Regions from separate parts of the Homo sapiens genome. Here region 2 is linked to region 1. The links are contacts of gene promoters, found by promoter capture Hi-C in blood cells and fetal thymus (Javierre and others, 2016). All regions are on one chromosome and are shown on one strand. The core of a region is centred on a gene start or on the middle of the fragment in contact, and the rest is flanking DNA. Distances in the headings are between cores, read along the strand shown.

Region 1 (6,762 bases), core at 1,453-3,952:
GAGATGAAGTCTCGCTCTGTTGCCAGGCTGGAGTGCAGTTGCACGATGTCGGCTCACTGCAAACTGCCTCCCAGGTTCAAGCGATTCTCCTGCCTCAGCCTCCCGAAGTAGCTGAGATTTCAGGCGCCTGCCACCACGCCTGCCTAATTTTTGTATTTTTAGTAGAGATGGGGTTTCACCAGGGGATCCAGGCTGGTCTCAAACTCCTGACCTCAGGTGATCTGCCCGCCTCGGCCTCCCAAAGTGCTGGGATTACAGGAGTGAGCCACCGCGCCCGGCCTGCATCCAGCTATTTATTTTTTTTTGAGATGGAGACTCACCATCGCCCAGGCTGGAGTGTAGTAGTGCAATCTCAGCTCACTGCAACCTCCAACTCCTGGGTTCAAGTGGGTCTCTTGCCTCAGCCTCCCAAGTAGCTGGGATTACAGGAGCCTGCCACCACTCCCGGCTAATTTTTGTATTTTTAGTAGAGATGGTGTTTCACTATGTTCGCTAAGCTGGTCTCGAACTCCTGACTTCAAGTGATCCGCCTGCCTCAGCCTCCCAAAGTGCTGGGATAACAGGCACCTGCTACCACGCCCAGCCTAAAATATATTTTAAAATATATTTCTCTGAGTTCCTCAAGGTAGAGTCCATGTCTTTTGTCCCCAGAACCTAGTACAAAGTCTTGTACCTCAAAGTTGCTCAGTGAATATTAATTTAATGGATGAATCGGTCACACCAGTAATTGCAGAGGTTTTCTCAGGCCCTAGCCCTGGCTGCAAGGACTTTGGAGAGATCTCCCCTCCCAACACCCTCCATTTACCACATCATCAGACTGTGGTAGCCATTCAATGAGTGCTTAGCGTGAATTCTACACAGTGCTAATTACCTGTAATTCTCACAATGTCCTTAAGCGGTGGCTACTAATATGTCTTCATTTTACACTTAACCTTAATCCCAGCTACTCGATTACAATCCGGGTTACGTGACCTGGCTCACGTCACCTAGCTAATAATGGAAGAGCCCATGTATGTTTGCCATAGGAATTGGCATTTTCACGTCCAGCTCTCTAGCCCCAAAGATTTCAACCTCTTCGAGCCTTGACAGATTGGAATAAGAATCCTCTCCAGGAATCTTTCCCAATATGCTGGAACCTAAAGGGAAATAAAAACCCCTACTCCGATCAGCGTAGACTGGGCCATGGTGAAAAGGAATGGATGATACTCCAGGTGTGAGGAATTGCAGCTTTTTAGCCTGCCAGTTATTTTTCACTCAGCCATTTGCAGGAAATGAGGCACACTGCTTTCCATAACTGATTTGTCTTGCAACTTTCTGAACAAGTCACAGCTTCCCCTTTTTTTTTTTTTTGAGACGGAGTCTCGCTCTGTTGCCCAGGCTGCAGTGCAGTGGCGAGATCTCGGCTCACTGCAACCTTTGCCTCCCGGGTTCAAGTGATTCTCCTGCCTTAGCCTCCCGAGTAGCTGGGATTACAGGAGCCTGCCACCACACCTGGCTAATTTTCGTATTTTTAGTAGAGACGGGGTTTCACCATGTTGGCCAGGTTGGAACCTTGGCCTATTTATTTATTTATTTTTGAGACGGAGTTTCGCTCTGTTGCCCAGGCTGGAGTGCAGTGGCGAGCTCTCGGCTCACTGCAACCTCTGCCTTCCGGGTTCTAGTATTCTCCTACCTCAGCCTCCCGAGTAGCTGGGATTACAGGCGCCCGCCACCACGCCCGGCTAATTTTTGTATTTTTTAGTAGAGACGGGGGGGTCTCACCATCTTGGCCAGGCTGGTCTTGAACTCCTGACCTCGTGATCCACCAGCCTAGGCCTCCCAAAGTGCTGGGATTACAGGCGTGAGCCACCGCGTCCGGCCCCTTGGTTTATTTTTCTAAGAAACAGACTAACACTGATCTCACTAGTAGCATTGTTAATATTAAACAAGATAGCTAATAGCTTTAAAGCGTCTAATCACGGTACCCCCACGAGTAGTAGTCACACAGCAAATCATAGGCAGGAGTGGACAAACAGCGCTGGGAGCATTAATTCTGGTAGATTTGGAGTCTGGGCAGGGCCTAAGAGGATGGGATCAGCGGATTGGGCCAGCCAAAGGGGGCGGGTTCAGAGGGAGGAGCCAGCTGCCTCCCGCTGCAAGCCCCGAGCTTTGAATCAAGCGCGGTAGTTTCAGCTGTAGCCAATCCTAGAACAAAATCTTTTTGCGTCAGTTGTTGCTGAGGCCTAGATCTCACCCAGATCAGTTCTAGTCGCTGCTGCTTGTACCCGTCCTCGGCCCTTGCGTGTCCGTCCGTTACGACTCAGAGGACGGAGAGAAAGTCTAAGTCACCTTCCTCAGTATCCAGGCCGGAAGGAGACTCTCAGCTACTCGCCCTGAACATGCAGAGCAGCACTGGCTTCCCTGTCTCTGGATGCCGCAGGGGCGTCCTGTCAGGAGTTGTAGTGTCAAGATTCCAGTTCTTCTTATGCGACTTGCTGGAGAAGCAGGAAGTTGCTGTTTATTGGAGAAGTCGGGCTAGGGAGGGAAACAATCCCGCGGAGCCATATGGAGAGGGCAGGAGGTGTCTAGATAGTGGTAGGCCGGCGGGGGACGGAGGGTATGGGTGGTGAGTCCTGGCCCTTTAAACCCGAGGGGGAGGATCCGGAAGTGGATGGGCGGGGCGAAGGGTCCTCGTATATAAAAGGGCCCCGGCCGCGCGGGGTCTCTAATCTGCCATTTTCTGTCCCTGAGTGAGTCTCTGGCGTCCCAAATTGCCTGTTTTTCTCGCAGGCTCTATTCCGTTCGCTGGTTCGCCACCTCAGGGGAACGATGGCCATGGAGTCCACAGCCACTGCCGCCGTCGCCGCGGAGCTGGTTTCTGCCGACAAGTAAGCGGGACTGTGGAAAGCTTAAGGCACTGGCCAGTCCGCGGGGAGGGCTAATGGACGGGGGCTCCGGAGAAGGGGCAGACCGGTGGGCGGGAGTACTTGCCTTCCCAAGAGCAGCTGTCGCTGTTCGGGAAGGCCTGGTCACTGGAGCAGTCCTTCTTTTGCTGAGAGCCTCGCGCAGCAGCGGTAACGGCGGTCGGCTGGCGCCCCCTGCCCCGCTTTTCGCGGCCGCCATCTTGCCGGGGGCAGCGGCGGCTGTATCCTTCGCCTGCCCCTCTCCTTCCTCCCCCAGCCCGGGGCGGTTGGCCGGGAGGCGGGGCCCTGGCGCGCGGGTTGGCCTTCACGCCCCTTCTGTCCCCAGCGTGTGCCTCTGGTAGAACCCCTGGATAACCCGGGAATATAACCAACGAAGATTTGGCGCCAAAAGGGAAAAAAAACCTTGCACGAGGAAGGAGGCTGGACCTGAGGGGTCGGGGTGGGCGGGGCCTTGCTGAGGGCGGGGTTTTGCGCGCGTGCGTTCGCTTCCCTCGCCGGCCCTGGGGCAGGGGGCGGGGCCTTGAGGAGGCGGGAAAACTCCATTGTTTGGGGCCGCTGCGGCTCCAGCAGGAGCTTTGGACTATCTCCGTGGGGCCGGCGAGGCTAGTTCCCCCCGACACCTCGCTCACGTCTTGTGCTGGGAGATAGTTATCGCTCCCCGCGACTCCGTGAGCCCCTGCCTGTGGTGGGGAGGATTGTCGTTCTTTAGACTTTGGAGGTGGTGTCTGTTTGGGGGGAACATTACCGGACGTAAAGCGTCTTCAGGAAGCGCTGTCTGGAGCTCTCACCAGCACTGTTTGGTTGCTAGGTGAATCGGCAGTAGTATGCACGAAGTGGAGAAGGACTGGAGGGAAACAAGATAGGATTGTTTTGAAAGCGGCACAGTGCCACTCAGGCGTAATCTGTTTTTTGAACAGTGGAGGGAAACACTACACGAGTTCAAGGAAACAAGTGCTGTTTCCCATACAGTAGGTCTGATTTCCCAATCTTGCCATATTTTTTTAGGCATCTGGTTCTATTTTTTTTTCTAATCTTGTGCGCTTTAGAGGTTAGTTGCCTTCCCTGTAAAAGGAATGGTTGCTGTGAAGTTTTTTAAATTGATATTCTATAGGCTTACACTCTGTCATGATTATGTCTTTGTTTGTTTATAGTTAGAGATTTACGTATATCTCTGCTTACCACCTTTTCTCTCTGCGTTCTTGTAGAGCAGTGGTTCTCAAGTCACCCTGAGAATCATTTGGGAACTCATGGGAAATACAATTTTAATTTCAAACTCCCATTACCTGCCTCTTTCCCCATTGATTCGATATAAGCAGTATAGATTGGGCTTGGGAGTCGTGCTATAGCTATTATAAAAAGAGCTGCTTTTTATAATGTTTCCTAGACAGCTCTAGCAGTCAGTATTTCACTGACAGCTGTGTGTTTTTGTTTTGTTTTTGCAGACAGGGTCTGGATCTCACATCCAGACTGGAGTGTAGTGTTGTGATCATAGCTCACTGCAACCTCGAACTCCTGGGCACAACTGATCTTCCCTAGTAGCTTGGGACTACAGGTGTGCCACTACACCTGGCCAATTTTTTGTAGATACAAGGTCTTAATGTTGCCCAGGTTGGTCTCAGACTCTTGGACTCAAGCAGTCCTCCCGCCTTGGCCTCCCAAAGTGTTGAGGTTACAGGCGTGAGGCACGGCGCAGGGCCAGGTGTTTTTGTTTTTGTTTTTTGAGGTAGAAGTATGCAACAAATACCTCTTGCAGGTCCCCTGTGTCTAGCCAGAGTTAGGTCATTAGTGAATTTAGTTTCCTGGCAGGTTATACATAGAGAAAGTTTATGTATATGTGGCTAGAAGAAAGCAAACCATTTAGTTCCTCACAGCATAAATTGAAAGCTAAAACTGAGCAATTATATGTGCTGGGTGTGTGGGGGTGGGGGGGCAGGGTCTCTGTCACCCAGGTTGGAGTGCAGTGATGCCATCTCGGCCCCCTGCAGCCCCTACCGTGCCGTGTGTGTGTGTGTGTGTGTGTGTGTGTGTGTGTGTGTGTGTGTGGTGTGTGTGTGTGTGTGTGTGTGTGGTGTGTGTGTGTGTCACCCAGGCTGGAGTGCAGTGATGCCATCTCGGCCCACAGCAGCCCCTACCTCCTGGCCTCAAGTGATTGTCCGGCCTCAGCCTCCCGAGTAGCTGGGACTGCAGGCGCACACCACAAGGCCCAGCTGATTCTAGTATTTATTTTGTAAAGACGAGTTTTTGCCATGTTGCCCAGGCTGGTCTCCCAACGCCTAGGCTCAAGGGATCCACCCACGTGGGCCTCTCAAAGTGCTGAGATTACCGGCGTGAGCCACCAAGCCTGGCTAGTATTTTCATTTTCATTTTCATTCTTCGTTTCCCCATCTAATTAGTGTGAGAGAACATGAAAGCAGTGTGTCTCAGTTAAGTAAGTTAGTGGGGACACTTAGAGGTAAAGTTTATAAGGTCCTCATGTTTAAGGGTAGGATAAAGAAAATGACTTGAATTTAGACTTTAGGTAAGAATGTACATTATAATTCGAGGATGACCATTGAAAGAATAAATATAACTTCCAAACCAGTAGAAAGAAAAAAAATGGAATGAGAAATAAACCTCAGTTCAGGTTTTTTAAATTTAGGAGATGAGGATCTTACTATGTTGCCCAGGCTGGATTCCCAACTCCTAGTCTCAAGCAATCCTTCCATCTCAGCCTTCTGGGTAGCTGGGACTACAGGCATGCATCACCTCGCCTGGCTTAGAATTGGCTTTGATAGCAGCTTCATTGCTTCAGTAGTGATATTGGACCACAGTTTTGTCGTCTGCAAAAAGTCTTAGGTTGGCTTTTGTCCCCTCGTGCCATTAAAGCAGTATTGTTTAAGGTGATGTATATCTACATGCTAAATTAATCCTGTCATTCTTAGCTTTCTAACTAGTTCTTAGTTGGTTTTTTTTTGTTGTTTTTTTTTTGAGAGGGAGTTTTGTCACCCAGGCTGGAGTGCAGTGGCACAATCTCTGCTCACTGCAACCTCCGCCCTCCCGGATTCAAGCAAGTCTCTTGCCTCAGCCTCCCAAGTAGCTGGGACTGCAGGTGTGTACCACCACACCTGGCTAATTTTTTGGGGTTTTGCCATGTTGGCCAGGGTGATCTCGAACTCCTGACCTCAGGTGATCAGCCGGTCTCGGCGTGAGCCACCGTGCCCGGCTGCAGTTATGATTTAATACTGCATCTTTGTTCATTTACATATCTCAACTGTGGATGGTGCCGTGTATGGTCTGTGTGTTTTGATGAATTTTAACTTTTTATAATTTGTATTTTATGGTAGTGAAGAAGACTAGTACCTACATATCTTTTATGCATTGATTACATACATTTTGTTAATTCAACATTTCTAGGCTATGAGGTTTGTCTTGAGTTTTTTCATATATATATATATATATATATATATAATTAATTTTTTGGAGAGAGAGTCTTGTTGTCTTGCCCAAGCTGGAGTGTAGTGGCCAGATCTTGGCTTACTGCAACTTCTGCCTCCCCTGTGCAAGCGATTCTTGTGCATCAGCCTCCCAAGTAGCTGAGACTACAGTTTACAAAAATTAGCCGAGCATGGGTAGCAGGGTCCTGTAATCGCTTGAAACCGGGAGGCAGAGGTTGCAGTGAGTCGAGATTGTGCCACTGCACTCTAGCCTCAGAGCAAGACTCCATCTCAAAAAAAAAAGGGCCAGGTGGTGTGGCTCACGTGGTAATCCCAACACTGTGGGAAGCCAACACGGGCATATCACTTGAAGCCAGGAGTTCGAGACCAGCCTGGCTGACATGGCAAAACCCCGTCTCTACTAAAAATACAAAAATCAGCCAGGC
Region 2 (6,762 bases), core at 1,337-3,836, 550 kb after region 1:
TTATTTTTGGACAACTCAACTCAACTTGACCAGTATTTTTCTACTAGGCTAATATATTTCAACCATAAGTGCATTCTTCATTTTCTCCCCTCCTCCCTACTCACCTCCCACCCAACAAATTCCCTTTGTATGTCTGCAAGGCAAGGTACTATATAATGCAGTATAATTCTAAGGCAGTTTGAATATATAATTCTTATAACAGGAATCTAGAATTATTAACCTTACTTTTTACAATAAAAGTACCAGTGATGTACTAAATTTCTATTCATATGTATGACAAATGTATCTAACATGCTTTACCGTTAGGGGGAAACAAAGGGGGAAAGACACAATAGATGGGTGGCAAATCTTACAAACTTTACAAAACACTGAAAAGCTGCATCTGGATTGCAGTCACAATTATAAAAGCAAATAAAGCTCTGAAATAAAGGAAAAGAAAAAAATTCTAAGTGATCATCAAGAGTGAAAAAGGTTTATTCAATACTAGTTTTTAGTACAGCACCATTTAACACTGACTAATTGAAAAAAAAAACAGGATAATTCACCGTTTGCAAGGACACAGGAAACAATTTCTACATACCTTCTATAAGACAGTTACACTTCTTCACACTTGCATGGCTCAAATCCTTTCAAACGTTTCCAAAAATACAGTCTTATAATAAACGAGGTTCCCCAATGACACACATTTTATTCTGTAGACTTAGCCATAACACGTTTTAAAATACATAAAGAATTCATCCTCGACAGAAACAAGGAGTCACAAAGGCTCTCTACTTATTCAGAATCATTACATAAAACACCATCTGTAACTGCAAACAGGGTTTGAGAAAATCTGACAGCTAATAATCATAAAATGGGGTAGACTTTAAAGGAAAAAAAAGCCAACTTTTCCATTTTGCTTTCCTTTTCCTTTCCTACCAGATACACAAAATGTCTGTAATAGCGTCAGACAGAGCTTTAAAATAAAAATATAGTGCTATATATGTATACTTTACATTACGTGTATAGGAACACATATGTATATATCACACGTTCACAGGAAACAGAAAGGTTCCCTCGTTTTTGTTTTTGCTTTTTCTTTATTCTAGGAATTGAAGTTACATTAAACCCTATCCCATAAATTAAGTTAAATCATCATTAAATTAAAGAGTAATAAAATATTGCACGTAGATTTCTCTGAGCGACTATCTTCTGAGAAGGAAAACCTCAGACTAAGACCATGGCTGAATACGAACGCCCAATCCCTAAAAAAAATCACTAACCGGCATTTGTTTCTGCAAGAGAAAAAGGGAGTCTTACAATGAATAATCACATAACTCAGTTTCAGAAGTTAACCGGGGTAAAACACAACGAACCAAATTAGACAAATGTATGAAAGGACAAGCTTTCAAGAATTCGCCCAAAGTGAAAGACTGGTTTTAACCCCGGGATATAAAACATCCTTTGCAGGTAGAAGAGTCTTTAATTGAAAAAGAAAAAAATAAAATAAAGTGGCGGGCACAAGAAAAACCTGAACGACACGCAAAGGCAAAGTAAAAAATAATGATAATTTTAAAAAGGGGTCTCTCCTCCCACCCCCACTTCCAGCCCCCACCCCCACCTTCGCAGGACAATAGGATCAGGGTCCTAACTGCAAACTTTAAACGTGTAAACCAGAAGCAGTTTTACCGCAGCTGTAACTGCAAATCTCCTCATCCCGAACCTAGCGCACCCAGGAATACTTCTGCCCTGAAAACATCAGCAAGCTCTTGGTAAATACAAATCAGACCCATCACGAGATTCTTTTTTTTTTTCTCCCAAGTACCTGGAGGATCCATTTCAATATAAAATATCAGTTCTGTCGAATAGGGCATCATCACCTCCCTCCAGTCTGCGTCATCGCGGTCCATACTCCACACCGTATTGTACATCGCGCTGTCAGGGGCAGGTCGCCAGGAGATATATAGAAGGCATATATTTTTTATCTGGTATTTAAAAATCTAAAAATATATATCTGCAAAAGTTCCACACGGAAATGTACTTCGGGTTTTCCAACGGCCAGTACCAGTCCGGCCAAACTACCCGAACAGGGTCCTCCCCCTCTCTCCTACAGAACACAACAAAATGCCCCCGAACTTTCAAGCTATGGGCTTTTCTCCTCAGAGGATTACACAGAGGCTTGGGGGACGGAGAGCAGAGGTGTTAAAAAGCGGCTTCCCAAAAATCCTTTCTACACAGTCGCTCTCCGGGGAGAAAAGCTCCCACCGCCTCCAAATCTTTCCGCGGAAGCCACTTTTGTGTCCTTCGAAGGAGGGAGAATGAAGAGGAAAAAAAAGAACACGTTGGGAGAAACCCGGGCAAGTGACAAAGGAAGGCAAAAAAGGGGGCTGGAGATTGCGTTCAAGTTTCGGGGTCCCACTGGTCTGCAGAGAGCGAATCCCCCAGAGGCCGGGACTCGGGCTCCTCTCCGGTCGGTCTCGGAACCGAAGCTGCCGCAGCCTCGGGAATGGGGCCGGCCGGAGAAGTCCAGTCAGCTCGGCTTGTCTGGGCGCTCCCGCCGGGGTGTAAGAACCAACCCGACCGCACCAACTGCCCTCAAGCTCTGCCCGGACTCCAGCCACTAGAGTTTCATTTTAACGGCGCGGAGGGGACACCCTCCCCGCCCCATGCTGCCCACCCGCTGAGGCGCCACCCAACCGCGCCGGGAGGGGGGACAGCAGGCATCACCACCGCCCCTTCCACGCCGTCCCGCCTCGATGTACCGGGATTCTGTCAAGTGCCTGAGAACATGTTCAAAAAGCTGCTCTCCATCTCGACTTTCACGTCTCCCCACCGCTCTCTAGGCTTCGGCTCCCCAATCAGCCATCCGCGCTCTCCCCCAGCCTCAATCAGAATGGTACGATCCGGGCGCTGGCCGCACTCCAGGAGTCAGTGCCGGGAGCACGCGAGCCAGGCGAGGAGGGAGTGGGGCGAGGGAAGAGAGGCAAGGTGGGTGGTGATTGGCTGAGGCCGGTTGCCGGAGCCTGGAGCCTGCGTCTTTTGTCTGCCTTGCTCCTGCGAAGGAGCGGGAGACGGCTGCGCGCCCCAAGCGGGCCAATCAGGAGACAGCCGGCGCCGGCCGGTAAGGCGGCGATTGGTCAGAGCCCAGTTACTAAGCGGGACAAAGGCAGAAGGGGAAAAGAAAAGAGGAGGAAAAAAAAGAAAGAAAGAAAGGAAGAAAACGCAAACGGCGGTTACTGACAGGCTGGGCGAGCGCTCGGGGGCTCAAACTGCCTGGAGACAGGCGGGGCTCCTGCTGAGGCTTGGTCCGCCCGGACGAGTAAGGAGAGGAGCCAGGGAGGACCTGCTGGCGTGAGACGCCTCTGCCCGGTGATTGGCCGCGGGGGAAGGGAGCGGACACAGAGGGGGCACGTTCTGTCACTTGGCGGGGTGCGCGCTCTTCTGGTCCTTAGGAGGTCTCTGGGGAGACTCCTTTCCTACAGACCTCTTCACCTTGCTGGGACAGCCCTCTCCGCACCCTTGACAAGTTGTCAAAGCAATGGTCCCCAAACCCACTTGCCACCTTACCACTCAGGGAGAGGATGTGCCCGTGGCCCCTGCAACCTTCCTGGCTGCTACCTGACCCCACTCCCTGCTTCTCCCCTTGAGCAATTGGACATTTCTGAGGGAGGCATTTCGCAGTTCCTCTGTGCTTCCCACCCAAAGACTTTTGAACCCAGAGGTAACTCCCCACGCCTAAAATAGTGAGAGGTCTCAGCAAGCCCTCCTGCTCGAGTGCTCAAACCAATTAAAAAAAAAAAAAGTCTTGGAATTACAGTGCATGTGTAATTTCTAAGATAAGTCACAGGTGTTGGAATCTCTCACCAAAAGGGCTCTATTCTGTTTCCCTGACAGACCCTCTTCCTCACATACTCATTCCCACCCCCAAAGCTTAAATCTGGGAGATTGGCTTCACTATGAAAATGCTGAATATTTCCATGCATTTCAGAAACAGCTAATTAACTTGCTGGGGAACACTGAATAGCTAAAAGCAGATTTGTGTCTCCTGAAGATTGTGCCTGGAATTGCCATCCTGTATACCCTACAATACAGTCTGAGGAGGCCAAAAACTGCTCCATTTCCTCTTTACACAGGAGTAACAAAGCCCATTGTGTTTGAGTTGACAGCCTGATTTAAGCCCTAGCAAAACCTCCTACCTTGAGCATGTCTGCTATATTGATTCGCCTATGGAAGAGTTGCCACGTTTCACCCTCTACCTCCTAAGGTGGTTCTGCCTTCCTTAAAGATGCCCTGAGTTGAGACAGTTCCTGAGGGCAGACAGTCAAAATGTATATGGACTGGGTATAGAGTAACTGGTTTAAAAGGGCCAGAAAGTATGGATGGACATGGTTGAGCTAAGAAAAGACACCAGGATTCTTATATGCTTTCTTATTATTTCTGAAATCCAAATATGATTTCAACTTTGGGGCAGGACTCATTAATTATAATTTCCTGAACCATTCCTTACAGGTAGAAGATACTGGAAGATCAACTCTAATTTGTGGCTGCCTTCCCAGCAGTCTCTACTTCAGCATATCTGGGAGCCAGAAGCACTCAAGTTTGATAACTCAAAAGACAGAACAATCAGTCAAGGGTGGGTTGGTTTATTTTTGTTCACGGGTGTTCATGTGCATTCCCAAACAAAATGAGGGTGAAGAGAGAGGAAGTGTGGAAAAGATAATGGCTTTCAGATTTCCACAGCACCTTTTGCCTGGACCACTTTTCAGCATTTAGTGGTGGGGTTTCAGTTTCTAATACACAGAGCAATCACCCAGGCTTTTCCCACAGCTAAGGCTTTGAGAGATGAAGTGACGTCCAAGCACAGTATATAATCAAGTGGTCAAGGCTGACACATGGAGTAAAGCTGTGATTCAGTCTTTCCACCTAAAATTGTATGACCCAACTCTCCAACTTAAATAGACCTTTGAATATATCTCCAGAGAATAAGTGATGCAAGAGGCAATGATGAATCAAGGGGAAGCAAACTTTCTTAGTCCTTGAGCTTAAACCAGTGCCCTGCCATGGGGGAAAGCACCTGTGAGATGATTCTGGTCTTTCTTTCAGTTGAGAAATAGAAGTGAGGTTGTGATTGCTTGTCACCAAACTGCCCCAGGCTCTTTGGCAAAGGTAAAAAATGTTAGCTCGGGTGTCCTGGACCACTTCCAAGTTGGAGAATTATATTTGACCTGGGTGTGGATTAAATTCAGCTCTAAGCACTCAAGCTCCTGGGTCACAACCTGCTACTTTGGGAGCTGCTTGTTTTCCTTTGCCCTCTCCCTTTCTTTTTTTAATTTAAAGTAGTCTTAGGTAAATCATGAAATCTGCTTTCATTTATATATCTATGAAATAGATTTATGCAAGCTGCTTAGTTTATAGTGAAACACTTAGAATGAAAAAATATGCCACTTAAGTATTTAGGATTAATAGTACTTTTCTGTAACTCCAAATGGCTAGGATGCCCTTCACTTTTCACCCTGGTATGGTTTTTTTCTGCAACTGTTCAAATATGCTTCATTTCTTCCTCTTTATTTCAGAGATGGATGAAATATTTCTTCTGTGCTCTGAATATAGGGTATGATCTCAGAGCTCTCTGTGCCAGCAGAATCAGTCTGGAACTCAGCCAGAAGTTCTTCGTGATTAAAGGTGCCATCTGAGCGCACAATATTTTTTTAAAAGCCTTGCAAAATGGGGCCGGGCACGGTGGCTCATGCCTGTAATCCCAGCACTTTGGGAGGCTGAGGTGGGCAGATCACGAGGTCGGGAGTTTGAGACCAGCCTGGCCCACGTGGTGAAACTCCGTCTATACTAAAAATAAAAAAATTAGCTGGGCATGTTGGCAAGCGCTTGTAATCCCAGCTACTCGGGAGGCTGAGGCAGGAGAATCATTTGAATGCAGGAGGCAGAGGTTGCAGTGAGCCGACATCACGCCATTGCACTCCAGCCTGGACAACAGGGCGAGACTCAGTCTCAAAAAAAAAAAAAAAAAAAGCCTTGCAAAATGGAAATATACTTTTTTTTTTTTTTTTTGATCACTAGCATTAGCACCAGAACTGACTTTAGACTTTGGGTAGGGATTCTACCAGCCTCAATACCTTCTTTTTCTTCTCTCACCATTTTCCCTTGACCACTTGTCTTGTGATAAGGCCCAGTCCATGCAATTAAATAAACTCATTTAACAAATATGACTCCCAGAAAGCCCTACAAATTATCAGTTGCAGATTTTTAGGGCCTCCCCAGACACTTGACTTGTAAGTAGAAGATATATCAAGTTTTGATGGAAAAGTTTGCCTTCACAATGTACAAAGAACCATGTTAGTGGATCTTCTGGAAAGACATCTCACCTGAAAATCAATAGTCATCTCTTGAGACAGCAGTGTCTAAAATCGTGATTTTCCATTTTTTCCAAATGGTATTCCTTGTATTTGGCATTTGCAATTTTTTACCTTTCCTCATCTTTCTTAGCACTTGAATACCCATGATAGAGTTAATCATTTAACCCAAGGCACTGAGAAATTATGACATTATATGAATGAGTAGACTTCATTAAAGTGGCATTCCCCTAGATGCTGCTGAATTCCAGGGCTTAGGGGACAATGTTTGAGGCCTCACTTATACACCTCAGCATGTGATGTAGATCTGCTCTGCCTCACTCTTCCCACTTTGGGTCCTCATTTAGGTTTAGGGGTAACAAAAGAAGCAAATCTCTCTAGCTTGACATCTTCCTCACTTTTGATGTCTGCCCTT

What was found. Contacts are between HindIII fragments. The CHiCAGO score rates a contact against its expected background, and 5 or more counts as called.
Region 2: the fragment with the promoter of PIK3R3 here is called in contact with the fragment with the promoter of NASP in region 1 in 2 of 17 cell types (fetal thymus and erythroblasts); the score reaches 7.1 in fetal thymus.

Annotation. Positions count from the first base shown.
Region 1 is chr1:45,581,339-45,588,100 of GRCh38, forward strand. NASP (nuclear autoantigenic sperm protein) reads left to right here and starts at 2,703. Exons shown (of 15, transcript NM_002482.4): 1 at 2,703-2,867. The coding sequence starts at 2,809. RefSeq lists enhancers at 1,319-1,368, 1,779-1,838, 2,289-2,598 and silencers at 2,129-2,188, 3,099-3,398. The HindIII fragment of the contact is 9,802 bases long and covers 1-2,885 here.
Region 2 is chr1:46,130,043-46,136,804 of GRCh38, forward strand. PIK3R3 (phosphoinositide-3-kinase regulatory subunit 3) reads right to left here and starts at 2,587. Exons shown (of 10, transcript NM_003629.4): 1 at 1,805-2,587. The coding sequence starts at 1,910. The region is part of intron 1 of P3R3URF-PIK3R3 (P3R3URF-PIK3R3 readthrough); the gene reads right to left. LOC101929626 (a long non-coding RNA gene) reads left to right here and starts at 3,329. Exons shown (of 3, transcript NR_125987.1): 1 at 3,329-3,348; 2 at 4,489-4,612. RefSeq lists enhancers at 1,850-1,899, 3,140-3,369. The HindIII fragment of the contact is 2,525 bases long and covers 1,383-3,907 here.